Linked DNA regions of Homo sapiens: region 1 is linked to region 2. Evidence: promoter capture Hi-C in human tissues and cell types (Jung and others, 2019). All regions are on one chromosome and are shown on one strand. Each heading gives the region's core, a stretch centred on a gene start or on the middle of the fragment in contact. The rest is flanking DNA. Distances are from core to core; before and after follow the strand shown. Region 1 overlaps LINC-PINT (long intergenic non-protein coding RNA, p53 induced transcript). Region 2 holds the start of PODXL (podocalyxin like).

Region 1 (3,333 bases), core at 641-3,140, 580 kb after region 2:
GAGTAGTTGGTAGTTGTAGAAGTTTCTAAATGTTTTGTTATTGAAGCCAAGTTGAAGTTGCTCATTTGATTCTTTGACTATGTCCTGATTTCAATTATGATTAACGAAGCCTTTCTGTATCCTTAAATATAACAGATTCACCAAAAATTTAGTCGAATATTAGTATTGTAGATTAACATTTTCCTATATTTTACAATTACTTTTAATTATTTACAGTTATTTTTAAAGCACATAGCACAATTCGGATTACTTTGTTTTGTGGTATCCAGAGTTTGAAAGGATTGTGAGAAGATAATAAAGCAGACTTGAAGGCTGGTGGATGCCGCAGTGTATCTGTCAAAATTATTTGAAAAAGTCACTCTCTAGGATTTCATTTTGATTTCTTTTTTAATTTTCTAAGATTATTTTTAATGATCCATAATGTGTTTTTTTCATTAGATAAATAGAACCCACACAATAATAAAAATTTTCTGATGTTTTCTTCTTAGCCTTACATTAGAGGACATGAATCCTGCTTTGGACATCTGTTCCTCAAATACATTCATTCTTCTTTGACTCACCATTTACTTTGAAGGATAATTAAACCAGTCCAGTATTTTTTTTTTTTTTTTTTGAGATGGAGTCTCGCACTGTCACCTGGGCTGGAGTGCAATGGTGCAATCTTGGCTCACTGCAATCTTCACTTCCCGGGTTCAAGCAATTCTCCTGCCTCAGCCTCCCGAGTAGCTGGCATTACAGGTGCCCGCCACCACACCCAGTTAATTTTTTGTATTTTTAGTAGAGACGGGGTTTCACCATCTTGGCCAGGCTGGTCTCGAACTCCTGACCTCGTGATCCGCCCACCTCAGCTTCCAAAGTGCTAAGATTACAGGCGTGAACCACTACACCTGGCCAACCAGTCCAGTATTCTATGGTCTTGTGCATTTATAGCATTTGGGTTAGGAAACAATTAGTGCATCATCTCTTCCTAGAAAAGGGTCTAGAAAGGCCCGAGGCGATGCAGTAGTACTTTCCTGGCAGTCACATCATTTCGAAGCAGCTGAAAGCCAGTCCTAGGAAAATGACCAAGGGGTTAGACTAGTAGGTGATCTAGAGCCCTCTATAAATTGAGGAAAAACAAAAAAGAGAATAACCATAGACAGCTAATTAAAAATCCTGTCTCGGAAAAACTAAATAAGCAGCTGCTGTATAAGAGCCACAAAGACGTACTCTTTCTGCCTTTCCCAAGGTAGCAACGTGCTATGTAGCTCAACATCACCAGTGTCCTGAAACTGCTCCAACGTTGATCTTGCATTTGCCATTGAACTGAGTTCATTCTCTTTCCTTTCGCCTTTTGAAACACTCTACTACTTGTTCTCTTGCCTCTCTGATTATTTCTTCCAAGTAATTTTATAAGCTACACTAAAACTTGGGTTAGCAATGGGTATTTTTCCCCCCATTTCGTTCTTGGTTGATCAAGTCAAAGTATTATCTCAGCATAGGCAGAGTCCGGTGCTTGGGAAGTGGTATTAAAGAGATTTCAGATAAATACTTCAAAGCCACTTCATTGGAATCCCCAATTTAAAAAAAGTTAAGAAATCATAAAATGAGTCTTTAACTAGATTTTGGTGGTTGTCATTTGGAAGAAATTCTAAGAGTGAATTCCAGCCTGTTTCCTGATTTCCTGTTGTCCTTATTTACTCCTAGTACATGGTACATGACTGGAATCCAGTAGAAAAGCCCCAGAATGTGTATTTTAGTCCCTACAGCCAACAGCTTTGAGAATGTACAGAAAAGGAGGCTAAATCCTTGCCCCTGCTGTGGCTTCAATTCATAAGCTTTTGTCTCTTCTCTGTTCCATTTCAAAAGCTAAAGCTAAGTGTCACAGGACAAGATTGTAGTGGCTTCAGAGAATGGTAGGCTTGAGAAAAAGACTATTGATGATTCAAGGGGATAAATTATGGTAGAAATTTAAACAGTATTTGGGGACATAAAATACTGTTTTTGAGTTGAGTAACCCCAAACAAGAAGAAAAACATGTATTTAAAAAAATATTTTATATTTTTCCCATTTTTTTCTGGCCATTTTTCTTTATTCATTTTCTGAGAGGGAAATGGAAGCGAAAATAGAAACTATTATTTCTTTTTTCAAGACAACCAGGTCGATCATGAAAAGTGTAAGAGGTCACCATCAGGTAGCTAAGCACTTCTTTTAAACCTATGAATAAAGGAAAAAACACAAGATGTTAAATAGTAAGTGTGTATGGTTGCTAGTTTTGAACTTCAGTGCTTAACAATGTCAAAGTCAAAGTGTTCCTGTGTTGCTGTGAAATAAGTACCAATACATGCAGAGTAGCTACTATTGTTGCCACATGCAAAGAAAAGACAGCACACTCAGTAAATTCTTTTAGTTGTGTTTCTTATAGTTAAGGAATGTTGATCTATTTTATGTTTTTGTGGTGTAACTTAACATGGCAAAGAAAACAATCATGTTAATAACATTTTGCGATTATTTTCCATATGCCAAGCGTTGGCTGAAAAACATAAGGGTAAGTACTACAGGTACTATCATTCCAGTTTTATAGAATGTGCATGCTGTAAGAAAGACAAAATTATATTAGTGTATGAATGAACACCATTACCTACCCCTGTTGGGAATCAATGATGATAATCTCATTAGAATATTGTGCTAATTGGCTGCAAATAATATGTCAGCAATATTTACAGCTTTAAAAAGCTTTTGGTTTTAGGTGGTTGATTAGCAGGGATGGCATTACCCGGAAAATACAACTAGGTTATAGTAGTATTAAAAATAACTCAGGTTTTTCTAAGTTTGAAACATTAATATTTTTTATGCTAAAAGGTTTTAAGAAAACACTTGCAATTTACAGCGCCTTGTTTAGTCCTCAGCGATAGAATAGTGTAATTTTAAAAAAACCAAAGTAGGGCCAGGTGTGGTGGCTCAAACTGTAATCCCACCACTTTGGGAGGCTGAGGCGGGTGGATCACCTGAGGTCAGGAGTTCAAGATCAGCCTGGCCAACATGGTGACACCCTGTCTTTACTAAAAATACAAAAATTAGCCAGGTATACTGGCCTGCGCCTGTAATCCCAGCTCAGGAGACTGAGGCAGGAGAATCGCATGAACCTAGGAGGCAGAGGTTGCAATGAGCTGAGACTGCACCACTGCACTCCAGCCTGGGCGGCAGAGTGTCTCAAAAAAAAAAAAAAAAAAGTAGTATTCCCATTTGAAATGTGTATAATCAACATGATACGCCCATATCAGTATTTCAGGTATGCCAACACCAATGATTGGGAAAAAATATATATAGAAGTGGAATTGCTGGATCATATGG
Region 2 (3,032 bases), core at 334-2,833:
CCTTCGCGGCTCCAGGGACGCAGTGCCCTGCAGGCATCGCCTGCTTGCAGCCGACTTGAGGGGCTCACGGAGTCCCCTGTGCCCGGGACGCGGCTAGATCCTGGAGAAAACCCCTCCACCCAGCCCCATCTGGCAGATAGACTCCAGATTAGCAACCCCGGAGTCACGTGAGCCAAATTTACGCCGTACCCGGGTTCCAAGGTTAATCACCCCTCGCCCCCTCCGCTTCCCGGCTCCGCCGATGTGCCTCCTCTTCAGGCGGGCCTGGGGTCTGCGTCTCCCAGGCAGCTTTGGGGGTGGAAAAAAGGAGGGGAGCGGGGGAGGGGAAAGGAACTTCTTTGTTCTTTCACCGGATAAACTCAGTTTACGGAATTCTCCAACACCCACTCCCACCCCCAGTGTGCAAATATCTCTGATCCTCACTTGGAGGGCGAACTACTTCATTCATTGAGACTTTTGTGTTCCTGGCCCTAGGCTAAGTATTATCTTGTAAGATCACATTTAAGTTTCCCAACAACCCCCTGAGGTAGGTGTTATTATCCCTATTTTACAGATAAAAAGAAATGAGGTACTGAGAATAGCTTGCCTAGGGTTTTACAATTAATAGATTGGCACAGTTAGGTTTTGAGCCCCAGCCTGTTTTGACCCAAAAGCCCTAATCTTTATAGCTGTTCTTTATATAGCAGGAATAAGAGTAATAACCACTCCTTGCAGAGCAATTACTATATTCCAGGCACGGTGCACGGTATTTCTCCAAACTTCTCTCAGAGGCAGGTTTGCCACTTACCCGTTATGTGGCCTCAGGAAGTTTCTTAACCTCTTTTTGACTCAATTGCCCTGTCTGCAAAATGAGGCTAAAAATATGGTTGTCATGAAGAGTAAAAGAATTAATATATGTAAAGCCTGGCACACATTCATCCCTGAAATTGTTGTTGCTGTTGTTTTTTAACCATCATCTCCATTTCACAGGTAAGGAACCTACCCTTGGAGAGGTGAAGGAGTGAATTAGTCCAGCTTGCCCGCTGCACACCTAGCTGCAGAGAGACCCCGCTCAGAAGCCGTGCGGGATGGGGGCCCCACAGGCAGGTGAATTGCACTTGGCAGGTGGGAGATGAGCTTCTCCGGGGTCGCTGCAGAACGCGCAGCAGCCCGGGAGGCCGTGAATGGTTATCAGTTACCACGCAAGGCTGGGGGTCCGCCCGCTCCGGATTTGCTCGTAGTGCGAGGGCCCCGGCGGTGTGCTGGGGGATCCCGCCGGGCCCACTTAGAAGCACTCGGGGGGACACACCTGTTCGGGACACCTGTGGACGGGGCCCGGCTGCACCGCAGGAGCCCCCCGCCCTGGCCCCCGCGCACACACAGCCCCCCAAGGCGCGGAGGCCGCCGGCCCTCCCGCCCGTCGCGCTCCAGGGCGGAGTTTCCTCCTCTGCTCATTGTTCACGGCCCAGCGCCCGCCCAGCCCCGGCCCCGGCCCCGCCCGGCCCGGCCGCCGCCGCTGGCGGGCTCCTGGGGGAGGGGGAGGGGCGGGGGCGGGGGCGGGGGCCGGCGCTGACGGGACGGGCCAGGAGTAGCCGCAGCCGCCAGTGGGGCCGCAGCCGCGCAGACGCCGCCCAGGACGCAGCCGCCGCCGCCGCCGCTCCTCTGCCACTGGCTCTGCGCCCCAGCCCGGCTCTGCTGCAGCGGCAGGGAGGAAGAGCCGCCGCAGCGCGACTCGGGAGCCCCGGGCCACAGCCTGGCCTCCGGAGCCACCCACAGGCCTCCCCGGGCGGCGCCCACGCTCCTACCGCCCGGACGCGCGGATCCTCCGCCGGCACCGCAGCCACCTGCTCCCGGCCCAGAGGCGACGACACGATGCGCTGCGCGCTGGCGCTCTCGGCGCTGCTGCTACTGTTGTCAACGCCGCCGCTGCTGCCGTCGTCGCCGTCGCCGTCGCCGTCGCCCTCCCAGAATGGTGAGTGGCCGGCCTGGGTTCCGCCGGGACTCCCACCGTGCCCATGTGCCCCCTGCCCGGCCGAGCTGCAGGGAAGCCCGGCGCGCCGCGTGGTCCGACCCCGAGCAGCCCTATCACCGCCGGGGTCACACACGGAGCCCTGACCTTGCACCATCCACGCCCCCTCCAAACTCCGCAGCGCGGCAGGTGCAGGGCCTGGGCGTAGATTCGTCTCCACTCTCCACTCGGGAGGAGTGGGCGGTGGATTCTGCCCGGGCAAACAGGGGCGCGCCGGTGCTAAGTGGGTTTGCATGGGAAAGAAAAGGGAGACCGCACCGCGAGGCTCCACGCTTCTGCGGGACTCTCGGGATCTGATTACACCTTTCCTTCGTGTTGGAGGGAATGAGGGGCTGTAGTGTGTATTCGTTAATTCCAGGCAAAGAGGCAGGCGAGAGGCTCCCGAGGAAGTCCCTGAAGCAGGTGACAAGCCTCCAGCCACGGCCCACGCGGGCGATGTACTTACCCGTTTGCAGAGGTTTTTTCTAAGTAATGTGTGCAGGCTCAACTCCTTGAGCCCGTGCTGGGGCAGGTACAGAGTCGTAAGTGGACCTTCCACAGTCCCAGAGTCACCTGGCTGAGTGGGGGTCCTACCTCCGTGTCCCTAAAACAATCGCTTCTTAGTGCGTGGCTACGATGGTGAGACCCCCCTCGAATCCTCTTGTTCAAACGGGAACTTGTTCAAACGGGAACTTCTCTCTCGTAGAATAGGATTGGGCTGCATTTTAGACACACCTTAGAAAATGTACCTGTCTCTCATGAAACACCTGCACCTCAGAAACATCCCCTCCCTGTTTCTTTTCAAGGTGAAATGTTACTCTTTCCCTTTTGGGGGACAGGCGATGGCTGCAAACTCAACCAGAACAGGTGTTCTTAAGCCCCTAGGGAACAGCCAGAGTCAGCTCAGCCCCACGGGAGAGGTGCATTTCTCATTCTCTTTTGCCCACCTGAGCACATGTCTGCAGGAAGAGCTGAGGTGGTGTGATCACCCTAGGGCCAGGAGGACTGCGGGGACAGCACAGACAGGGTAGGGATTCTGCTGTGA

The links. Contacts are between HindIII fragments. The study calls those that stand out against the background at their distance.
Region 1: a contact is called between a fragment that was not itself captured here and the fragment with the promoter of PODXL in region 2, in 1 of the 25 tissues and cell types used here (dorsolateral prefrontal cortex).

The regions. Positions count from the first base shown.
Region 1 is chr7:130,977,702-130,981,034 of GRCh38, reverse strand. LINC-PINT (long intergenic non-protein coding RNA, p53 induced transcript) reads left to right here. Exons shown (of 8, transcript NR_170176.1): 5 at 2,507-2,527. Among named protein-coding and RNA genes, the nearest start is that of LINC00513, 66 kb to the right of the region's middle. The HindIII fragment of the contact is 3,455 bases long and covers 163-3,333 here.
Region 2 is chr7:131,555,179-131,558,210 of GRCh38, reverse strand. PODXL (podocalyxin like) reads left to right here and starts at 1,583. Exons shown (of 9, transcript NM_001018111.3): 1 at 1,583-1,951. The coding sequence starts at 1,852. RefSeq lists an enhancer at 648-1,195 and silencers at 1,163-1,282, 1,313-1,372, 1,453-1,962. The HindIII fragment of the contact is 6,040 bases long and covers 1-3,032 here.